Regions from separate parts of the Homo sapiens genome. Here region 1 is linked to region 2. Evidence: promoter capture Hi-C in human tissues and cell types (Jung and others, 2019). All regions are on one chromosome and are shown on one strand. The core of a region is centred on a gene start or on the middle of the fragment in contact, and the rest is flanking DNA. Distances in the headings are between cores, read along the strand shown.

Region 1 (6,505 bases), core at 2,193-4,692, 48 kb after region 2:
ATATGTACAATTTGTATATGTCCATAAAGCTTGAAAGTATTTGTTACGATCATTGTCATTCTCTCCTTTTGTTTTAATAATAAAGACATTTAATGTTTCACTTCACAATAAGTTTTGAGGCAGGTAGTGCCAGTGTTGTCCCAGCAACCTAGTGACACTGGGGTTGTGGGTTGTGGGGTTCGGCGGAGGTATTCCTGGGATTCTCTAGGCCTCATATCTTTTTATAATCAATGTTATTTTGTTTATTTTAAGTTCCAGGGTACATGTCCAGGACGTGCAGGTTTGCCACATAAGTAAACTTGTGCCCTGGTGGTTTGCTGCACCTACAAACCCATCACCACACGGCCTGTGGCCCCTTGGCTTTGGATAATTTCTCCCATTTGGAATGGAAACATTCACCCAGTGCCTATATCCCCATTGTATCTTGGAAGTAGCTAACTTGTTTTTAATTTTACAGGCTTATACGGGGAAGAGACTTGCCTTGTCTTAGATGAGACTTTGGACTTGGACTTGTGAATTCATGCTGGAATGAGCTAAGACTTTGGGAACTGTTGGGAAGGCATGATTGGTTTTGAAATGTGAGAAGGTCACGAGATTTGGGAGGGGCCAGGGGCAAAATGATATGATTTGGCTATGTCCCCTCCCAAATCTCATCTAGAATTGCAGTTTCCATGTATTGGAGGGGGGCCCAGTGAGAGATGATTGGATCATGGGGGCAGATTTCTCACTTGCTGTTCTCATGATCATGAGTTCTCACAAGAGCTGGTGGTTTGAAAGTGTGACACGTCTCCCCTGGTTCTCTCTTTATCCTGCAGCCATGAGAAGAAGGTCCCCGCTTCCCCTTCAACATCCGCCATGATTGTAAGTTTCCTGAGGCCTCCCAGTCATGCTTCCTGTTAAGTCTGTGGAACTGTGAGTCAATTAAACCTCTCTTCTTCATAAATTACCCAGTCTCAGGTAGTTCTTTATGGCAGTGTAAAAATTATCTTATACACCAAGTTCTTTTTTTTTTTTGAAAGGTGTCTCGTGGCTGGATCTGGCAGCCTCCCGAGTAGCTGGGATTACAGGTTTGCACCACCATGCCCAGCTAATTTTTTGTATCATTAGTAGACACGGGGTTTCGCCATGTTGTGCAGGCTGGTGTCGAACTCCTGACCTCAGGCAATCCACCTGCCTCGGCCTCCCGAAGTGCTGTGTTTACAGGCCAATGTTCTACTACCTAGATACAAGTACCACAGGTCTTTGTGGTTTTCACTGTTAATCTGTGTCATTAAAAGTGATCACACATATCAGCTCTACTTTCTACTGTTTTGTCCATTTCAATCACTGTCAAAAGGATGGAGTTTAAAGATATATCATTACTCAGCTCTTCGTTTTGGAAGATAAGCAATTACTGCCGTTCACTTAACAATAATATAAACATGCAGAAATATCATAGTATTTTCTTTGGTATGAAGAATAGAGAAGAAATTTGTTTGTGTTCTCTAGGAACAAATTTCTGGGATGATGGCAGTGGAGTCATCAGACACCTGGCTGAGGAGGAGTTTGGATATGAGCAGAGGCAGGAGCCATCGCATGGAAGATCTCGCGAGAGGACGGGTCTTCCGCGTGCCTTGAAGATCTCGGGAGAGGACGGGTCTCTTGAGTTGGGTGAAGATCTCGCGATAGGAGGGAATCTCATGCTAGGGGTGCAGATTTCGCGAGAGGACGGGTCTCCTGCATGGGGTGATGATCTCGCGAGAGGACCTGTCTCCTACGTGGGGTGAAGATCTCGGGAGAGGCCGGATCTCCCGCGCGGGGCGAAGATCTCGGGAGAGGACGGGTCTCCTGCGCAGGGTGAAGATCTCACGAGAGGATGGGTCTCCTGTGTGGGGGGAAGAGCCACACACAGAGAAGCCCAGGACCCTGTGCATAGAGCAACAGCTTTCAGATGATGAGCTTTGGTTAGAATAGTTTCCTAAAATTTGAGTCTATGGGATATTTTGCAAGTTGTGGTTGACATCGATATCATCAGACAAGTGTCCTTCGCTGACAGTACCAAAAGCCCTCTAAGTAATGTGTGAAAAGCAATTTCCTTACTCTTCACTTGCAGATTAACGGAGGCATTCATCAATGCACAGAGGCAAAACCAGTGTCCTCAGAGTATCCAGACCCTGAAAGCTGAAAGAAGGAATGAAAAACCTGCCTCTGGAAGTGGCATTGGCAAGGTATGACCACAAGGAAAGCAGCATGAGATGCTCCTTCCCTGCTTCGACCATGCTGAGACCTGACTCATTGCTGGACTAGAGAAAATCAAGGTGGGTGTTGGAAGATGGGAACACTCTAGCGATTGCGAGTGAGTAGCTGCTTCCTTGGTCCTAGAAAGCTTAGGACTGTTTTTTTGTTTTTGTTTTTGTTTTTTTTTGAGACGGAGTCTCACTCTGTCCCCCAGGCTGGAGTGCAGTGGCGCGATCTCGGCTCACTGCAAGCTCCGCCTCCCGGGTTCACACCATTCTCCTGCCTCAGCCTTCTGAGTAGCTGGGACTACAGGCGCCCACCACCACGCCCGGCAAATTTGTGTGTGTGAGTGTGTGTGTGTGTATTTTTAGTAGAGACGGGGTTTCACAGTGTAGGACTCTTTGACATTCATGTTTCTCAGTGTTTCACCCAAATAACCCACGCTAAGGAGCAAGATCCAATATTCTCCATAGCAGAATAATTATTTTATCATAGGAATATTTACATTTGTTTTATGCCCTTATTTACATTCTCTGGATGAATACGAGAGATGTTAACAAAGAATCACTCCAGATCAAAACATCCATAATTGTATTGACCAGTATTAAACAGTGAAGAGAGAAAACACAATTCCTTGCCAAGATCAATTGATTGAGAGTCTTGTCTTCAGCTTTGGTTTCTCCAAGAATTTTCAGCACCTACCCTCCCAGAGTATCTTGTTTTCTCAACTGGACTGCTCATTTCTATCATTACTTTTGAAACAAGGTCCAAAAGGTGAACAAGATAAGAGCTACTTTCACGTAGGTCAGAGGGGTGAACGGCATCAGAGGCTTCAGAAAATCTGAGGCCGAGGGATGATAAAAGTCCAACTAAATATTTGCAATGACCTAACTAACTTAGTATCTGCCTCATGCACTTCCGTTTCTCGATTAAACCAATTACTTAAACATGAAAAATTAATGCAAAATAATGTCAAGGTTTTATTTGAAATGATTAATTAAAAACACACATCTTTAATGGGAATCTGAATGTTAGCAAGCACGGGTGAAAAGGCCTTTGTGTTGAAGCCAGCGTGGAATTCCTGAGCTGATCCATAGGAGGGCATATGCTCAGGTTACCCATCTGGGTGAATCAAGCTTCCTGTTGCTTTACGTTATTCTAGACACCCCATTCTCCCAATCCTCCAATACTTGTGAGCTCTCCATGCTGAAAACAGTGTGAAGGTCCTATTAGTTTGGACACAGGCTTCACCCTGTGTGTCTAGAATTCTTGATCCACATCCACCCATAGAATAAAGGGACCGTTTATATCTCTGCCATGAATAGATTTCCCTGCCTGCTTCAAACCTGTCGACACAACCCAAGGGCAAGCTTTTCATTTGCAGTGATTCAATTCTCACCTGAGAAGATCTGTGAAATTGAGGCTTTGCCCAGGAGAGGTGGCTGCTTCCAGCCCTGGCCCATTGAACCCAACGCATTATGTTCATCCTTCATTTTTCCTTCTGACTGCCTGGAATAGGGACAATGACAGTGACCATGACAGGGGATGTGGGTGATGACCTCCAAAGTCTATCTCCTATCATCAAAATTCTGGCCTCACTTCTGGAGCCTCTGGAGAGGTTGACAGGCTGGCACTTCCACATGCAAACCTTTCTGTGTGTCTCCTATCTGAGCTGAAGATTCCTCATCTCTGATTCCACCTTTCCTTCACGGCAGGGCTGGAATATGTGGTATTCTCATCTGTACATAAATAGACACAATGGTTTATAACCCTTACTCGAAGCATACGTTCATTCAGATACTTCACTCCAAGTTTTAGATAAATATTATTACTTTATAAATACCCACGTACACTCAGGACAGTATGTTGTCTTATTTACAGCAAAAGAAATGGATCCTTCACATTTCCCTCACCCCAGGACTTTTGCACGTGCTCTTCTCTCTATCTCAACTTCCATCCCTCTCCCCACACCTCATATCACTGTTGAGTGCAAATATCACCAGCTCCAAGATTTCTTTCCTTACCACCGTAGGCAAGTAGGCTTCTGTATTAGTTTTCATGGTTTAGTTTTAACATTTTCTTTCATAAAATTTATCATTGATGTCATTTATTTCTATTTCTCCACTTTTTCATTGTTTCTCCTCCAGTTCCCACCATGAAGACACTCTTTGTGTCTACAATATACCGTAATTGTACGAAGTGAGGAGCCCCGTACTTGGCACACATTTAGTGATTAGTAACTATACGGGGAATTACCGAATGACTCAATGAAGAATGAATAAATGAATGAATGAATGATTTGGGGCCAGGAAGTGTCTCACACCTGTAATGCCAGCACTTTGGGAGGCCAAGGTGGGCAGATCACTTGACATCACGTGTTTGAAACCAGCCTGGCCAAAACCAGCTGGTGAAACCCCATCTCTACTAAAAATACAAAAATTAGCTGGGCATGATGGCGCATGCCTGTAGTCCCAGCTGCTTGGGAGGCTGAGGCAGGAGAATCACTTGAACCCAGGAGGCAGAGGTTGCAGTGAGCCAAGATCTCACCATTGCATTCCAGCCTGGATGCCAAGAGTGAAACTCTCTCTCAAAAAAAAATTAAATTAAAAAAATACAAAAATTAGCCAGGTGTGGTGGTGCACACCTGTAGTCCCAGCTACTCGGGAGGCTGAGGCATGAGAATCACTTGAACCCAGGATGTGCAGGTTGCAGTGAGAGAAGATCGCTCCACAGATCTGGGTGACAGAGCAAGACTCTGTCTCAAAAAAAAAAAAAAGGTGGGGGGGATGTGGAAGGATTCTTTCCTAGAACCTACAGAGTGGGCATGGCCTCCTTGACACCTTACTTGCAAACTTCTACTTCCCAGGATTATAAGTGAATTGATTTTGTGGTGTTAAGCCACGCAGATTGCAGGACTTTGTTAGGACAGCCCCAGGAAGCTAACACAGGTGGCAAAGCATTGTGGTCACAAGACTGGGTTCTGACCTCTGCCAGCCTGGGCTCATTCCAGGATCTGCGGCCTGTTTGCTCCGTGACTCTCAGCCTGCTGCACAAGCTGTGAAGCTCAACCTCCTCATCCTGTAAGCGTGGGTGATATTAGTCACTTCCTAAGGAGGCTTATGTGAAGACGTCACTATTTATTCCATTTAAAACTTCATAAAACTGCATGCCACTTTGTTAAGTAAAGATAATCCAACACAATCAACATGCTATTTTCATTCATACACATTCATACACTCAGTTACCAAGTCTGAGTCCCTGCAGTGCAGTGAACGGACTAGGTATACACAGGGTCTGTGCAGGGACACAGTCCATGTCCAGTATGACGACTGAAGCAGAGAGTGGCGAAGTGGGCTTTGGAGGCCCCCAGATCTGCAACCATCACCTCCAGGGGCACTTTCTGTCTGATGCATCTGGAATACCTGGCGTGTGTTGGGTGCATGCAGCTCTGGGATCTCGAGGTGCCTGGTATATGCTGTGTGCAATCCCCCAATTGCTTATGTCTCTGTGCAGGGCTGGCTTCACTGTCCAGGAGCCGTGCCATCAGAGTTCCAAGCTGAGTTTAATGCCCTCGTGTTGACATCTTGATGTTTGAACATGGGGCCCTCTATTTTCATTTTGCATGGGGTCCAGTGGATTATATAGTCAATGCTGCAGGTATGATTTTGCTTTAGGATTTGTCAGGCTGATCTGAGTTTGTGATCTCTGTGTGCGTCTCACCTGGGCAAAATGGACAAGGAGGAAATCCCTGAGCCAGGAAACTGAGAGCAGAGCTGAATATCCCAGAATTCAAGGGGGAAAGCAGCAGGAGAGGTTGCTGGCTTGATATACGACAGATTTTAAGTGTGCATTTGAATACTGAATACATCATCAACTCTTCCCTCTGTGTCTGTCCATTTATAGTCCATCCATGCTTCCATCCATTCTGCCAGCATATGTCTATAAATGTCAACCTTATTTCATACAATTAACCAAGAATGAAAAATAAAGCATACGCTTCACTGACATGGATCCTGTCCTGTGAGCCCTGCTAGTCTAGGGGATGTGATAGATGTCTAGAAATAACTACAAAACAGGTAACTACGCACTATGACATTCGTATGTGGAATCATTCCTTGGCTGTGGGTGATTAGAAAATAGACTGGCATAGCTCTTCTGTTGCGGAAAGGGAGTCATGAGGAAGTGATGTTTGAGGACACAGGTGAGTGGTCAGGAGGAGGCACTGAGGACACAGGTGAGAGGTCAGGAGGAGGCACTGAAGACACAGGTGAGAGGTCAGGAGGATGCA
Region 2 (6,125 bases), core at 55-2,554:
CACCTGCCTGGAGACTCAGGGAGACTCAGGGAACTCCAAGCAATTCTGTGAATTTCTCACCTGGGACCAGGAGCTCCAGGAGATCACTGGGTAGAGACCACACATAGGGAGAGTTCGAGTCATAAGCATAGCACCTGTACGACCACCTGCGACTCGGGCTCACGGGGCCCACGGAGAAGATGGCCCAGGACCACCCACGGGCATGGGAATGGGAGTTCAGGCGTTGTGGGTGTTCATCTTCTCCTTCCTTACACAGAATGAAGCCGTCAAATGCCACCTGTGAGACACACTGGAGGGTCACGTTCCCTCCTGAGGTCACCACAGGGCTGGGCAGAGCTGAGAGGGTGGGTTTGCTGTAGGCTCCTAGGAGAGAAGGAGGCACTGTGTTAAATGGGGCTCCCACCTCCCACATCATCCCCAGGGTTGAGCTGTGAGAGCGGAGATGCCCCTGAGAGCCGACCCCCTTCCTGAGGGCAGAGCCTGGGGCTGGGACTCCTGAGTGTCCTCTCACCTGTCACCACCAGCTCCAGGGGGTCACTGTACTCTGATGAGTGATTGTGGCTGTAGTACTGACAGTGATACCGCCCTGCGTGTTCCCAGGTGATGGATGGGATGGGGAACTGGCCATTCTTCCCAGGCTCTTGTATCCGTCTAACCCAGGATGCTGATTTGTTTTCCCTATATAGATGGTACTCCTCAGCCTGAAGGCTCCCCTGACACCTGAGGGTCACAGGACTTCCCTGGATGATCACAGAGCCTGGCTCAGCCCAGAGGGTGGGCTTGGGGAGGTGCCCTGGAAGGAAATCAGAGGTCGGATTCTAAGTCATTTCCCACCCAACAGATCTCAGCTCTCAGCTGCAGGACCCTCCAGACACCCCCATCAGTCAGCCCAGAACTGCTATTCCCCATCCCCAGCTGCACGGGGGTGGCCCCTTGTCCCTAGTGAGGAGGAGGGACCTGGGACAGCTGGGAACAGACTCACCTGCCTGCACGTGGGTCCTGGGGCCCAGACTCAGCCCTGGAAGAGAGTTCCCTGTGAGGGATTTTTCCCCTGAAGCCTGGGCAGGTCCTCCCCTCCCTGGGATCTTTGTGAGCCCCTGGGGTCTCCTTAGGGACCAGAGTTTGGCTGTGGGGTGAGGTCCCTCCTAGGTTAGAAGCTCCCCTCCCTCTTCAAATCTCACCGAGACAGATCAGGACCGTGAGGATGGGGGTCATGGCGTCTCCTCCCACTGCCCTGCTCTGCGGATGGATGAGCCCTCAGTGCTGGCAGGACAGAGAGACGCACAGGGTGTGGACACTCGGAGGCTGGATCCTTCTTGTCATGGGGTTTTGTTATGTGCAACCACACAGGAAGTGCAACTGCCCTCTCAGGAGCCTGGCTGTCATACCTTTAGGGCTGAGGTGGGGGCAGGCACCAGGCCCTCTGCAGACATTTCAGACTGTAATGGGGTCTTTCCTGCCCCCCAGCCACTGTCTGTCTGGTTTATCCTCATCTCCTTGAGACCTGGGATGTAGCAGCAAATAGAACTGGTGCCCTCCTGCGTCTGCCCTTCCAGATGAGGGTGAGCAGAGGCTTCCTCTTCCTTCTCAGAGCTTCCCCATGGGGTCTCCCTCCCTCCTTCAGCCCGTCCATCAGCTCAGCGTTGCGGGGTCCTTACCATGGCGGTCGTCCCTCCAGCCCTGGAGATGCTTCAGGGAAAACCCAGGTCCATGCTGCAGTTAGACTCAGATCAGCAGAGACGCACCTGACACCTGGCTGTGTAGCTCAGGTTGAGCTGCGTGTGGCAGTGAGCACAGAGGAGTAATGCAGGGTCTACCATGGTGGCTCATGCCTGGAATCCCAGCACTTCAGGAGGCTGAGGTGGGTGAAGGCTAGAGGCCAGGAGCTTCAGATTACCCTGGGCCACATAGCAAGACCTTGTCTGTATAAAAAAAGCAAAAAATTAGCCAGGCATGGCAGCTCACATCTCTAGTCCCAGCTACTCAGGAGGCTGAGGTGGGAGGAATACTTCGGCCTGGGAGGCGGAGGCTGCAGGGAGCTATGATCACCCCTTAGCATTCCAGCCTCAGTGACAGAGTGAGACCCTGTCTCAAAAGGGGAAATGCAGGGATTAACTATAATAAAACATATTTGTTCTGTCTTGAGAGTGTGTGTTTCCTTCCTACCAAACCGTCCCTCTCCTGTACTTCCCCTTTTCTCTTTGTTGCAACATCACCCACCCCCACCCCGGGAATGAGGCTCTGAGTCGGTCCCGCCCCCTCAGTGTCCCTTGCGTCCTTGGCCTTCCCTCGGCACCTCCGTCCATGTTCAGAGTTTTCAGAAGAATTTGTTAGGTCTGTAATCTGATTCTGGGGAAGGTGAGCTGATTTGTATTTAATTCCTGATTATCATCCAGGGTTTATGTGACTTTGGACATGAATGTCACCTCTGAGCCTGCTGTCGTGAACCCCACTCATCACAGTGGCTGTGGGGGTCAGTGGTGCCCAGGACATGGGAGGCTCAGCCATGGTGAATTTCCAGACCAGTTCAGACAGGAGGGTGGGGACGGGAGAGGATCCTGGTGCTGGGCTCCACAGTCCAGGAGGATGATTGACGCCCCCACTCAAGAGCCCACATCGGCTCCAAATACCATGAAATTCTCCTTGTGATACATCTGAAATATGCAGATCATCACAGCCACGGGCACAGAAAGAGGAAGAACAGTTCCTCACATTGAGACGCATCCCCTTCCATGAGCAGAGTTCAATGCTGAGTGGCCACAGGTGTCTGGGACCACCCAGGGTCATTAGGGAGGAGGAGGCTCCCACCTCCGTGTGGGACAGAAGAGGAACCCCACGTCCTCCCAGGCAGGGAGGGGTCAGGGCTCTGGGTGACGCTGGAAGCTGTGGCTCCCCCTCCCCTGTGTGTGTGGACAGGCGCTGGGGGGTCTCTGCTCACTCACTGGAGGCCATGGTCAGTGCTCAGCCCCTCCCCTGTGTGTGAGAAACAGATTCAATCCACGGTGGTCTGACATGGGCGTCTGCTCTGCCCCACAGGTGAGTGTGAGACTGGCGTTGGTCCCATCCCTGCTGGGCACAATCTTGAGCTGACACTGAGTTTGGGGGAGTGGGGAGGAGCAGCGGCAACAATCCCCTTCATCAGGCTGATGCCTGGACAGCCGTGGGAGAAACCCTTTATGAAAGGTCAGGTGCGTGGGAGGAGCCGCCCCACAGGAATGACAACCAAGATACATGAGGAAAACACAGACAGTTGTTGAAATGCATTAGACAGACATTGTGAAGGTGAATTAATTTTTATATTAATTTATATATTATATAAAAGAGTCCCAAGCCCTTCTCAGCCTTTTCCCCTGCTATCATTGCTACCGAAACTTTGGGGCTTCTGTCTCCACCCTCAGGTGCCCCCCTCTTCCTGTCACAGAAGTTTTCTTCCTGGACATCAGCAGCTGGGCTGGACCCGGGGAAGGACATGGGAGTGTGAGGGCCAGTGAGGAGGTTGTGGGGGTAGGTGGGCGTCTGGGGTCTTCGGGCAGAATTACCTCCTCCACAGGCCTCTGTCGTTCTCTGACTCCACAGTCCCCACAGGACTTTGGAAATCAGCCTCCCTCTGGGCTGGGTGAAGAGGGACAGAGCTTCAGCCTTGGGATCATGAGAGCCACCTGCCCTGCACAGAGAACTCAAGAGAAAAGAAGGAAAGCTGAAAACACACTTGCATAGATGTTTTAAAAACGTCGTTAGATGAAACAACCAAAAGAATAAGGTATGTTCATGTATGTTCACATTTATTCTCTTCTTTCTAGGTTTTCTCACTGGGAAATGCTGGAGCCGTTTTTCTGAGCTGAACTTTCCCATCTGGAATCTGTCTGGTTGGTGGTGCCCTGACCCCACCTTCAGTCAGCCCATGGGTCTCCCCGCCAACTTCCTACTCACCCAATGTCCTGTGTTGGCCCTGAGGCCAGTGTCAGAGGAGAAAGAAGAGGAGGAAGAGCACCAGCTGAAGGCCACTGAGACCCCGATCACAACCCCCAGGTGCTTTCCCAGACCCTGAGGTAGGACTGTGAAGGTGTACTGATGCCCTTGCCAAATGAAAGGAAACTGTTCCTGATGGTTCTTATTAACAGTGATGGAGAAAAAAATATTTAACACATCAATGGCTGAATACTGGGTATCAGGGGATGTATTAATTTGCTCAAACTACAAAACCACATCTGTTACAACATCTTCAATTGGATCTGATTAAGCTTACAATAATCTAATATCATTATCCAAGATCCCTGCGTCTTCTGTGGAGGTAAAATAGGAGAGGTGAATGGCAAGGTTGTGGGAATCACTGTCTCTGCACGCTTCAAGTCCCAATATATGGAATTCCTCCAGGAATGCAAGACTGCTTTTGGTTTACAGTTTAGCTGGGAAGAGGCAGTTCTAGTGGCTCCCACTGGGCCCACTCTAATAACCCTCACTCAACAAGTGAGGGAACCACTGTGGGGGTTGTGATAGTTGTTGAATATGTCTATTCCAATGTTGCCCTCTGGAACTGGGGATACAGCCACAGGGTGGGTTTAGGGATACACTGGATTCACTATGGAACACGTGAGCTCAAACTCCACCAATCACCTTGCCTCTAGCAGCCACTACTCTGACTGGAGGGCCACAGTGACGTTTCGGGTCTCCTGGAATTAATGTCAGTTCATACCCCATTTCCAGTAATGCCCAAATTATCTGATTATTTTCCCCAAGGCTCCATTGCCATTGTAAAAGGCTGCAGGTCCCTTTAACCAAAGTCCAGGAGAAAGATTAAGAGTATATATTCTTGGTAGTGTACCAGGGACAGTGCCCTCACGGGAACCCTGCCTGGGATCCCTTTAATTCAGGGGATTCTGGCTCTATGAACTGACTCAGTGCTAGCCATTGATTGAGAGACTGTGGCTCTCTGCTTTTATGATTTGGGTTGACTTTTGTTCACTTGACATAGAAATTTTCTGCTTATACAGATCAAGTGAGAATTTAGTAGGTTTCCTATCTATCTCCCTTGTTAGAATGCCGTGATCAACTAGCCAACACCATAAGTCTGCGGGACTATTCCGATCGCTGGTTTGACTTTGCTGTCCATCATGGTAACCAAACCCACCTTGCCTTTGGTGGCTGAGTTCCTCTACTTGGCCCCTGTCTCTCTGGGGGCCAAGAGGTAGGGGCCAAATTACTCCCATTACATTTAGATTTTTTAAAATTCAGCAGTTCCACTGTAGGTTCCAGCTTCCAGAGAAGAGAAATCACAGAGCTCCTCAAGGATGCCAGAGCTCCCTTTGCAATATTGTTGAAAGATACATCTTCTGATGCTTCCAATGTGGGTTACTAGGTTTGATACATGCATGGTAACATTACAGTCTTCCTAAGCCTTTAAGTTAATTCCTCTGCAGCAAACCAAGGCATGTCTGGCATTTTGAGTTTATTTACTGCAGGCCAGCTTTTGCTCCATGTTTCAGCCAATCAACCAGACAAACTGGTAGAATCATTTCCGGTTCTCCAAGATGCAACATTAAATGTGCAATCTCTGTTTAGTGAGCTTATATATATAAATTCGGTCCGACTCAACTTTATGTTCTTTTCACCATTATCCTAAACCCTTAATATCCACTCTGACACGTGTTCCTCAGACTTCTGTATGGATAAATTAGAAAAATAAATAAATTACTTTGGAGTGTAGCACAACTTCTCATGAGCCACACTTTGTAACACACTTTTCAGGGCCTGCGAGACTTGAATCTAGTTATAGGTCTAGAAGCAAAGAGGGTTGGTCAGGATGTATCCTAAGGAGAATCAGCATAGCCTTGCATGGCAACTGCCTCAGGGGAGGCCAGTATTGTTTCCTCAGACAGTACAGGGTTAATCTCCTCCCTTGCAGATAGAGAGGATGCTTCTATTGGCAAAGAAGACTCATTCAAAGTTAGGGGCTTGATATCCTCAGCTGTATCAGGGTCTTAATATACATCCTCATTCCATCTTTCAAGATCTCACCCATTCCTGACCAATGGCATTACTTGAACAGTAGATACCCTGTGAGGCTGGGGACTCCGCTTGAATTGTAATACAGCCACTTCAAGGATGAGATTCTCGGTTTGATTTTC

What was found. Contacts are between HindIII fragments. The study calls those that stand out against the background at their distance.
Region 1: a fragment that was not itself captured here is called in contact with the fragment with the promoter of LILRA2 in region 2 in 2 of the 25 tissues and cell types used here (lymphoblastoid cells and spleen).

Annotation. Positions count from the first base shown.
Region 1 is chr19:54,522,352-54,528,856 of GRCh38, reverse strand. It overlaps LOC105372460 (a long non-coding RNA gene), which reads left to right and starts at 1,747. Exons shown (of 4, transcript XR_001754038.3): 1 at 1,747-1,943; 2 at 2,093-2,297. The HindIII fragment of the contact is 4,451 bases long and covers 1,217-5,667 here.
Region 2 is chr19:54,568,969-54,575,093 of GRCh38, reverse strand. LILRA2 (leukocyte immunoglobulin like receptor A2) reads right to left here and starts at 1,304. Exons shown (of 8, transcript NM_001130917.3): 1 at 1,182-1,304; 2 at 983-1,018; 3 at 512-793; 4 at 61-363. The coding sequence starts at 1,215. It overlaps LOC107985347 (a long non-coding RNA gene), which reads left to right and starts at 2,266. Exons shown (of 2, transcript XR_002958419.2): 1 at 2,266-2,358; 2 at 3,801-5,703. LOC105372461 (a long non-coding RNA gene) reads right to left here. Exons shown (of 3, transcript XR_936073.3): 3 at 3,382-3,676. The HindIII fragment of the contact is 16,909 bases long and covers 1-6,125 here.